Linked DNA regions of Homo sapiens: regions 2 and 3 are each linked to region 1. The links are contacts of gene promoters, found by promoter capture Hi-C in blood cells and fetal thymus (Javierre and others, 2016). All regions are on one chromosome and are shown on one strand. The core of a region is centred on a gene start or on the middle of the fragment in contact, and the rest is flanking DNA. Distances in the headings are between cores, read along the strand shown. Region 1 holds the start of NIPAL3 (NIPA like domain containing 3). Region 2 overlaps SRRM1 (serine and arginine repetitive matrix 1). Region 3 holds the start of IFNLR1 (interferon lambda receptor 1).

Region 1 (3,307 bases), core at 474-2,973:
ATGAATATGTGTTTGCAATCTTGTGGAAAGCATAATTGTTCACTATACTTTCACGTACATGTGAAAAGCATTATTGTGTTACATTTCTGTAAAAATGTTTTAGCATTTGTAATAATCATAAGAGCCTTAAGAGTGGCTCAGGGTTCTTTCTACCTCTGAGAGGCCCCGGGAAGCATTCAACCATGAAGCAGTCATGGAGTTGAGGAGCGCAAACTCCAGTGAGGTGTTTGCGGAATACCCTGTTCAGTTGCTCCCAGCTGAGATCTAGCCCAGAGCCTGACAGTGACTTCTATACATACCAACCAACTGACTAAATGAGATCTAGCCCAGAGCCTGACAGTGACTTGTATACATACCAACCGACTGACTAAATGCAGGCTGGTTAAGCACTGGGTGCACTGTGGCCCCTTCGCAGTCAAGAATGCCTTTCTAAGGCCTAATCAACCACAACTCCAGAGCTTCAACAAGCAGATATACTCAGCCCCACCCACAGGAGGTCAGAGAAAGCCAACAGACCTTAGCGACATGTCAATCAAGGGAGTGGTGGGAACCCAGGCCTCCTAACATCCTTCAGAGTAGTTTGCCCAAGTGCTTTTCTGGTTTTGCTTTTGTTTGTGGTGGTTGGCATTGCTGTGGTTTAATTTTTCTTTTAAAAAGCAGCTTCCCTCTCTGCCTCAGGAACTCGCAGGCCTCTGAAGCATCGCCTGCAAAGATTGAAGGCTCTCCCTCAGCTGGGTGGGAGTCCGGACTGAAAGCCTGGAGGAACCCTTTGCAAGCTGTACTCCCTTATAAGACACATACTTTTCACCTGGTGACTCTCTTTTCCTGATTTCGAAGCATTTCTTCAGGACCTACATATGCCCGAGAGGCAAGCAGTCACCTCTGCGTTGTCAACCACCCCACAATTAGAGCACGTGGTCACTGACCCAAGGAAGGAATGAGAATTCACTAGGTGCTCTGCTTCCATTCCCACCCCGTTTATCTCGATGACGGATTTCACCAATCCCACAGAGCACGTTTTACAAATGAGACAGCCGTGGCTCATAGCGTCTGTATTCGAATTTGCCTCTTTCTGAACAAATCAATAAAACACGCTCTTTCCCACCACCCGACGATCTGGCTTCTGGAGGTGAGCGCCAGTTCCCTGCCAAGCTTCCCGTTCCTCGGCTTTGGCTCACGAGAAGGTTACATTCTTCCGTCCCGTCCCACTGAGCTGGAAACTTACAACTCGAGGAGACAGCACCTCTGTTCCAGAAGCGGGCTTAGACCAAGAACGCCTCCCCTCATCCCACCTGCTAACTCCACCATCTGCTGCCGCCAGGAAGCCCGAGCCGCTCGGCACGAAGAGGAGAAATTCTGGCAAAGTTAACTCCATGTCACTTCCTGGTTTGGTAGAGCCTGGCATCACCTTTAGTAAGGTAGCCCATGCCCCCGCTCCTCTTGGCCTCGATGCAAAACTGGAAAGAACATTCCAAGGCAACGGGACCCAGGTTGGCGAGGCTGGTGACAGTAAGAAGGAAGGGTATGTACACTAGGGGACGTTAGGTGACTTCGCTTTTTCCAGAAAAAAACGAAGGTTAAATTCAATTCCCCTTCCTCCCGGTGTTAATCACTACTCACCGGCGGCGTCTCCTCTAAGGCCCACCTATCAAAACCTTCTGAGAAATGACTCGGACTCTTCGTGCAACCCGGAGGCACAGCCTCCTTCATCCCTTCCCAATTCAGAGCTGCCAAGATGCTGCAGTGTTTTGCTTTCAAAGGTCGCGATTTGATTTGCCAGACTGCCTGCCAGTCAGAAGTTGGCAGGCATTTCGCGCAGGCAAGTGGCTGCGAGGACGGGGAGTAGGCGGGACAGCCCCTGGCAATTGGCTGCGCTGCAAAGCTTGCTTGAAGCATAAGGGAGCGACCTGGGGCTAGAGCTTGGCGCTCACCTGGAGCGGGGACCCCCTAGCGGCCACAGGAAGAATGGTGCGGCGACTCCCCTGCCCCCTCTCCCGCTGTCCCAGAGAGCTTAGGTGGTTGCTCGCCTCCACCTGCCCGGCAGGTGGGCCTGGTTTTAGCAGCCTGCCAGGTGTCCTCCCTTCTTATCCTCATAGCCACCTTCCGGGCTTTGCTCCTGCTGTTCCCCTACCCGACGCTCTCACCAAGTATTCAAATCCAAAACGTCCTTGAAGACCCAGCGCTCCCCAGAGCCCTCGCGAGACTTGGGACCAAACATATCTCTCCTTTCCTGCCCTCCTGGAACACCTGTCGGATACCAAGCCTCCCAGCAATACTGAAGGTCCTGAAACGAGCCCAGCGCTTGGTTAATGTTTCTATAATGTACATAATTATCACGGCCATGATAATTAACATGCGCATGGAGTTTTACAGATGACAAGCTTCTCATCGCTCACACGTTGTCATATACACGCATTTGCTTTCAGATCGTCACAGCCATGAGTGAGACTTGAAGCCCGTTTTACGTATGAAGAAATGTCATTTGGGCCTAGACATCAACAATGAGAAAGAGGCAGTTCTAGTCTCAGATCGTGGGGCAGAGAAAGCTCCTTGGGAACATGGGAGAGGAACGAGTTGGTGCATTGTAGAAACTGCCCGAAGGCCAGCAGGGCTGGTGAGAGATTTTTCTGGGGGCGTGGTTGGGCCTGCGATCTGAGGGACGGGCCAGGGACAGTTTATAAATAACATATTTGGGGGCCGGCGCGGTGGCTCACACCTGTAATCTCAGGACTTTGGGAGGCCAGGAGGATCACTTAAGCCCAGGAGTTTGAGACCAGCCTGGACAATATAGTGGGACCCCATCTCTACAAAAAAATTTAAAAATTAGCCGGGCGTGGTGGCGAGCGCCCGTGGTCCCAGCTACTCAGGAGGCTGAGGCGGGAGGATCGCTTGAACTCGGGAGGCGGAGGTTGCAGCGAGTCGAGATCGCGCCACTGCACTCCAGCTGGGCGACAGAGCAAGACCCTGTCAAAAAAAAAAAAAAAAAAAAAAAAGCTTGGATTTCACCCTAAATTTAAAGGCGAGCCATTGGAGGACTTTAAGCAGGGGAGTGACAAGGTCGCTGAGACCGCCCTGCCCTGAAGCGTGTGAAGAGGGGCTCCTGGAATACTAAGTGGCTGCCCTTGTATAGTCGCCCATGTCAATTTTTTTTTTTTTCTTCTGTTAGAAACAGGGCTTGGGGCCGGGCGTGGTGGCTCACGCCTGTAATCCCAACACTTTGGGAGGCCGAGGCGGGTGGATCACCTGAGGTCAGGAGTTCGAGACCAGCCTGGCCAACGTGGTGAAACCCTGTCTCTACTAAAAATAC
Region 2 (3,307 bases), core at 212-2,711, 240 kb before region 1:
CCTGATCTCGGCCTGCTCACCTCGGCCTCCCAAAGTGCTGGGACTACAGGTGTGAGCCACTGCGCCCAGTCTAGATTTTTAATAGGGAAAGATGTTCTAAATATACTGTTAAGTTAAAAAGTGAGGCAACATATCTACAGTTGAGCTTCTGTGGGGTTTTTTCTTTTCCTTTTTCTATATGCACAGAAAATTTCTGAATAAAAGCTTTAGGAGGTTGGAAAAAGAATGATACGTTTCCAATTTTATACTTCTGTTTTCTGTTTCACTATTGTATCCTAGGGACCTATTACTTTTATAACAATGTAACAGAAAATTAAATTTTGCAAAAGGACTTAAAACCAAAAAAAGAAACAATCCTGCCTCCTCAGACAGATTTCTATGTAGGCAAGTAAGTACTCATGCTGCACACACAGATGTTTATATACCAAGTATTTTTTAATAGGAAATACAGGTAGAAAAAAAACTTTCATCACCATCCATACCAGATGAAGACTGCTGGTTTTGTCGTCTGTATTGGCGTCTCTGCTGCACAGAATCTGCTGCAGCCATTTTGCCACCTTTATCTTCTTCTGAAAGATGGATGCATTTAGAAAGTGTTTCTTTAGTTAAGCATATAGAAAATTTGCAATTTGAATAGGAAAATAGTCTCTCAAACCTTCATTTGGTTGGATCAAAAATACAACTACTATATATTTTTTTTAAAAAGAGTTTAAAATGCCAATTCACAGGCTGATTTAGACTATCTTCACCAAATATAATAAAATTTATTTAGGCATTTACTACAGGTCAGGCTGGTGCCAAGCATTTTACAAGCAGATACAGTTAACTGTCAAAAACCTCTACTGTCCCTATTTCGGAGATGAAAGAAGAAAGGCTCAGATAAGTTAATTAAAACAGAAACAGTTAAATTCTGGAATGGGGGATTCCACCCAAGTCTGTCTGCCTTCAGAGTCTTAGCTCTTACCCTATACTTAATCTTCAAGCAGAAGGGGATGACCAAATGTGCAAAAAATCAAAATCAGCTTTAAGAAAAACAAAAACAAACAAACCAAAATCACAAAAAAAAACAACAAACTTACCCGATTCAGATAACTCTACTTTTCTAGGCTTCGGTGCTGGTGAAGGGGATTCTCTTTTCTCAGTACCTTTATGTTTTGTCACTAAAAAAGAATAAGAGTGGAAAAAAGCTTACGTACAAAAAAAGGTCTATACAAGATGCTTTTCTTTTAATTTTTAAAAATTTATTATTATTTTTAAATAAAGATGGGGTCTCACTATATTAGTCAGGCTAGTCTTGAACTCCTGACCTCAAGCAATCCTCCTGCCTGAGCCTCCCAAAGTGTTGGGATTACAGGCACAAGCCACTGTGCCCAGCCAAGATGCCTTCCTGCTATTACAAAAATGGGTGTGACTACTCTCAAAAAGAATTTATGAAGACTTAAAAAATTCCTGTAAGACCTTGTTGTCATATCTGAACATTATCTGAAGTGAGACAAGAATTTTTAAATGTTTAATGAAAAGCCTCAAAAAGTTCTACAATGATTTTCAAATCTTGAGATTCTCCCAAGAAAACCAACAGTTAAAGGAAATTGGGAGCTGCTACTGAGTAGAACAAGCTCAGTAAAGTAAACCTCTGTGTGCTACACGAGCTCCACAATCTAAAATACACACCCTCCACACCCACACTCACTCCCTCACACTCAACTTCAGAGACTTCATCAACATGAAAGCTTTTAAGCAACCACAATAGGTGGGTTCAGAAAAGTAAAAGATGATAAATGATTAAGAAATAAGATCTCATGAAACTTTCACAAAGATATTTGGTCTAGAAAAGAAGAATGACTGCCCAACAGGTTAAAGGTTCTTTATGTAGAGCATAATCTTCACAATAGCACAGGGGATTTAAACTACCCATGAAAAAAAGCAGACCGCCACAAATAGTAAAAATGATTAAATACAAAGACGAGGATTCTTTCCAAAGAGCTAGAAAGAAAAAAAGGCATTTCTATACCTCAAGTAGTAGGAGAGCAGTGGGTATCCTATGAATTATCCAATTGTCTTTTACCAATAACATAGAAATATGGTAACTACCTTTTGTAAGCCTGCTGTATTAGACACACTATTAACACAGTAGTATCACATCCCTTTCTCCCTGTTCCATTTCACAAGAGAGGAAACCTGAGGCTTAAAAAGAAGCAACTTCACCTCAGTCACAAAGACAATTTAAGTGAGCTAAGATGTGAATCCAAGAATCTATTTTTAGGCCATGGGTTTTAATCTCAACAACTAACTCTGCTTATAGTATCTATCCATTGCTACAACTAAAATCATAAGTATATTCACATATAAACATATATATACCATAAATTAACCTAAAACACCACTTGAGAACATCCCAATAAGAAATAAACCTACAGACAATTTGATCCTCTCAGGATCCTGATACCTGTTTTGTGTGATTAAAGCAATTGCCATGGAATGTTTGACTCAGAATACAGATACATCTCATTTAACAGACACTCACATTCAGAATTCTGTAATGGTTTATTCCAAGGGGCAGTAATTAGAGAACCAGTGATCTAACACAGTAATCGCATCTTTGCTAAAGAAGTCAAAATGAAGAATTTACCAGTATGCCTTTTCAATGAACAGACTTTTCCCTTTCTCTCTCTTTTTTTTTTTTTGAGACAGAGTTTCGCTCTTGTTGCCTAGGCTGGAGTGCAATGGCATGATCTCGGCTCACTGCAACCTCCGCCTCCCGGGTTCAAGGGATTCTCCTGCCTCAGCCACCTGAGTAGCTGGGATTACAGGCATGCGCCAACCACGCCCGGCTAATTTTGTATTTTTAGTAGAGACAGGGTTTCTCCATGTTGGTCACGCGGGTCTTGAACTCCCAACCTCGGGTGATCCACCCACCTCTGCCTCCCAAAGTGCTGGGATTACAGGCGTGAGCCACCGCGCCCAGCGACTTTTCTTAAAATTTCTACGTAATAAGCCATTTGGACAAATCACTGGATTGGGTAAAGAATGGCTATCACTCAATTAGATATCAGGAATCATGACAGTGCAAATAGCAAACTATACTTAATACTTATATTTTAACAAATTCAAAGAAATAAAAATATTTTAAAATTGTTAACTATTTGAGGCTCTTTTTCTAAGTCCATATTCTCTATTTTTAAGTGTTACTTAATCCTCAATTTCTGCAAAGATATTATGGGCACGTCGTTAAAAAGTGCATGTCCAAGTTACCACACCTTAGAGAACTGGGTTCCCAAGCTTGCTTTGGAAGCTGATTGTTTGGATA
Region 3 (3,307 bases), core at 561-3,060, 230 kb after region 1:
CAGAGATCCCAAGATACCAACACTGACCGTGCCTGCTGCTCTTCCATCCTCCTCCACCCTGCGCCTTTGAGGTGGAATTGCGTCCTCTGTGAGCAGGGCTTTGTTAAGAGATCCTAATTAAGGCCAGGCACAGTGGCTCATGCCTGTAATCCCAGCACTTTGGGAGGCTGAGGTCACCTGAGGTCAGGAGTTCAAGACCAGCCTGCCCAACATGGTGAAACCCCATCTCTACAAAAATTAGCTGAGCATGATGGCAGGTGCCTGTAATCCCAACTACTTGGGAGGCTGAAGTGAGAAAATAGCTTGAACCCAGGAGGCGGGGTTGCAGTGAGCCAAGATCACACTATTGCATTCCAGCCTGGGCGACAGAGCTTTTGTCTAAAAAAAAAAAAAGAAAAAAAATCCTGATTAAGCAGAAGCCTTGATGCTAGTCCCAGAAGCATCCTGAAATTTCCAAAAGAAATTTCCCCCGCGGTTAAACTCAGAGCAACTTTTGGACCCACCAAGCTCTGTGAAAATCATTTTCTCTTCCAAAAACTGATGGGACCAAAGCTGATCCCAGTTTCAAATAATTATCAAAAAATTGGAAACGAAATATGATCAGAAAAGAAGAAAGTTGAAAAAGAAAATCCTCATCACCCAAAGACAACAACCATTAATATTTTGGTAATTATTATTCCAAATATCTTTCTATGCATACAGACAGACTCACACACACACACACACACACACACACACACTTTTTTTTTTTTTTTTGAAACTGAGTTTCACTCTGTCGCCCAGGCTGGAGTGCAGTGGCGCGATCTCGGCTCACTGCAACCTCCGCCTCCTGGGTTCAAGCGATTCTCCTGCCTCAGCCTCCCTGATAGCTGGGATTACAGGTGAATGCCACCACGCCCGGCTGATTTTCTGTATTTTTAGTAGAGACGGGGTTTCACCATGTTGGCCAGGCTTGTCTCCAACTCCTGACCTCAGGCGATCCACCCGCCTCACCCTCCCAAAGTGCTGGGATTACAGGCGTGAGCCACCGCGCCCGGCTACACACACACTTTTTTAATGGGCCTATGTTTTAGCACTCGCTTTTCTGTTTCTCAGTGTGTTGCAAACACCTCGGTGTCGATACACACCATTCGGCAACGTCCTCCTAAAGGGCCGCATAATATTGCGCGTCGTGGCGTGTGCCTTACTGGGAAGCTACTGCTGTCCAGGTGAACACCACAGCCTTCGGGGTCAGAAAGACAGCTTTCCCCAGAACAAGCACCTGAAGCTCTGGGGCCTGCCGCTCCCCGGGAGAGAAGTACGTGGAGAAGGGCAGCACGGATCCGCCGGGATCCCCGGGGGCATTAAAGGGAATCGCGTGTGTAAGGCGCGGAGCTCAGCATCCGGCTCAGAAACGCGCTCGGATCCCGCCAATGGCATTGAGGCCGCGTAGCCAAACCGGCCTTGAACTCTCCCTAATCCTGCCAAAATGGCCCGTCCTGGAGCACTGGACTGGCCGTGGGTTATTGATCATCAGCCGGTTTCTTCCCCTCCCCTGCCCTTCCCCCGTGCACGGATTTACTGATTTTTTTTTCCGGGAATTGAGTAAAACAAAACTAAGTGCAGATGAAGCAGAGGTACGGGCGAGTTTCGAGCGCGGGGACCGGCGCGCTCCCCCCCCCCCCTCCCCCCGCGGCGGGGCTGTCCCCAGGGACCTTCTCAGTGAATCCTAGGCGGCAGGGACGGGCCCGCGGCTCTGCGGGCCATTGGCTGCCGACTGCGTCACCTGCCCGCGGTGGGCTAGGAGACGGGAGGCGGGAGGCGGGAGGCGGGGACCTGGGCCCGGGCGGGGACGCCGCGGCAGGAAGGCCATGGCGGGGCCCGAGCGCTGGGGCCCCCTGCTCCTGTGCCTGCTGCAGGCCGCTCCAGGTAAGGGCGCGGGGCCGCGGGAGGGAGGGGGAAGAGGGCTCCCCGGGCCGGGCCGCGCCTACCCTCGGACCCGGAGCTCCTGGGACAGGCACGGGGTCCGCAGCCACCCGAGCCGGGTGCGAATCGGCCCTGCCTACGCGCCCCCAGTTTGCTTCTTCCCAGGACTGAACAGAACCGGGTCTTTGATATTCCTCTCCCGCAGGAAACGAATCCAGTTTCCTAATGCTTCCAGCTTCAGGAGAACTGGAGAAAAAAGACAGCGGCAGTTTGATACTGCATATTTTTTAATAAAGTGCTTTTTAATGTTTCCTAAAGAAAGCACTGATCCCTGCGTGAAAACCACACTTGACCCTAAAGTGTGGACAGCAGGGAAAGTGGGACCGATTGATGTCCCTTCCCGTTCCTGCCAGGCCTCTGGTGGGACGGAGCTCTGGTCGCCTGTGCCCTGCTTTCTAACAAGACGGCTTTCTTTTGGTGGTGGTTGTTGTTTTGTTGTTGTTTTGTTGTTGTTGTTGTTGTTGTTGTTTTCCCACCTCTACTGATGAGTAAGGTGTCAGGTACAAAATTCCTCGCCGTAGGACCCAACCACCAAACCTCACCGCCCACGACTCCAACCGAAGCAGGGAAGAGAAGGTCCAGAAATCGCCCCCAGGATATTTTCCTAGTCTTGGACTCACAGTTTAAAGAGCTGTAAAGGTCCCTGGGCATAATCCAATCATCATAAAAGCCTATATTTATTCAGCAACTTCTTTGTGCCAGGCACCGCATTATTCTGGAAGCCTCACGACCCAGCCATCCTCGGAGGTAGATATTATTTTTACTTTTCCGATGGGAAAACTGAGGCTCAGAGCAATTCAGGGAATTCCTCAAGAAGGATGGCAGAGGTGAGGCACACAGAAGAGAGAAGAGGGGCTAAAGCAAGCCTGGCTAGCTTTTGCCTCCAGGGTAGGCACGTGGGACAGGCTGTCCATCCACTGGGTCACTAGGCCAGCCAGGGATGCTCCAGCCCCCAGTGCCCACAGCAGCGTTCTCTGTGGCTGATGAGGGACCGTGTACCTGTGTGTGGAGGGAGGGTGGGGTCTTCTGTTCCCCTTTCACTGTCAAACCCAGACCTTCTTGTACTTTCACCTGATAAGTATTTAATATACACAACACTAACTATGGTGTGATGATTTAGGAGTAAGTACAGCCAGATCTAAGTTCAAATACTGGCTCCCACACAAACTGACTGTGTAGCCTCAGGCAAGTTAGTTAGCATCTGTCTCTGAGCCTAGCGCCCTTTCCATGGAAGCAGAATGAATGACACCTACCCCATAGGGTGGTCTGTCCCAAGGGTGATTGAGGTTTTACATGTAAAGAGCCAAACTAGTGCCTGGCATCCTTTGAAGGCTTCATAGAG

Evidence for each region. Contacts are between HindIII fragments. The CHiCAGO score rates a contact against its expected background, and 5 or more counts as called.
Region 2: a fragment that was not itself captured here is called in contact with the fragment with the promoter of NIPAL3 in region 1 in 1 of 17 cell types (naive CD4 T cells); the score reaches 5.1 in naive CD4 T cells.
Region 3: a contact is called between the fragment with the promoter of IFNLR1 here and the fragment with the promoter of NIPAL3 in region 1, in 7 of 17 cell types (total B cells, naive B cells, M2 macrophages and 4 more). The highest score is 13.5, in total B cells.

Annotation. Positions count from the first base shown.
Region 1 is chr1:24,414,218-24,417,524 of GRCh38, reverse strand. It overlaps NIPAL3 (NIPA like domain containing 3), which reads right to left and starts at 1,723. Exons shown (of 12, transcript NM_020448.5): 1 at 1,621-1,723. It also overlaps a transcript of STPG1 not described here. The HindIII fragment of the contact is 730 bases long and covers 1,155-1,884 here.
Region 2 is chr1:24,658,572-24,661,878 of GRCh38, reverse strand. It overlaps SRRM1 (serine and arginine repetitive matrix 1), which reads right to left. Exons shown (of 17, transcript NM_005839.4): 10 at 1,080-1,160; 11 at 483-569. Among named protein-coding and RNA genes, the nearest start is that of SRRM1, 17 kb to the right of the region's middle. The HindIII fragment of the contact is 543 bases long and covers 1,190-1,732 here.
Region 3 is chr1:24,185,792-24,189,098 of GRCh38, reverse strand. It overlaps IFNLR1 (interferon lambda receptor 1), which reads left to right and starts at 1,810. Exons shown (of 7, transcript NM_170743.4): 1 at 1,810-1,908. The coding sequence starts at 1,851. RefSeq lists a silencer at 1,548-2,037. The HindIII fragment of the contact is 11,665 bases long and covers 1-3,307 here.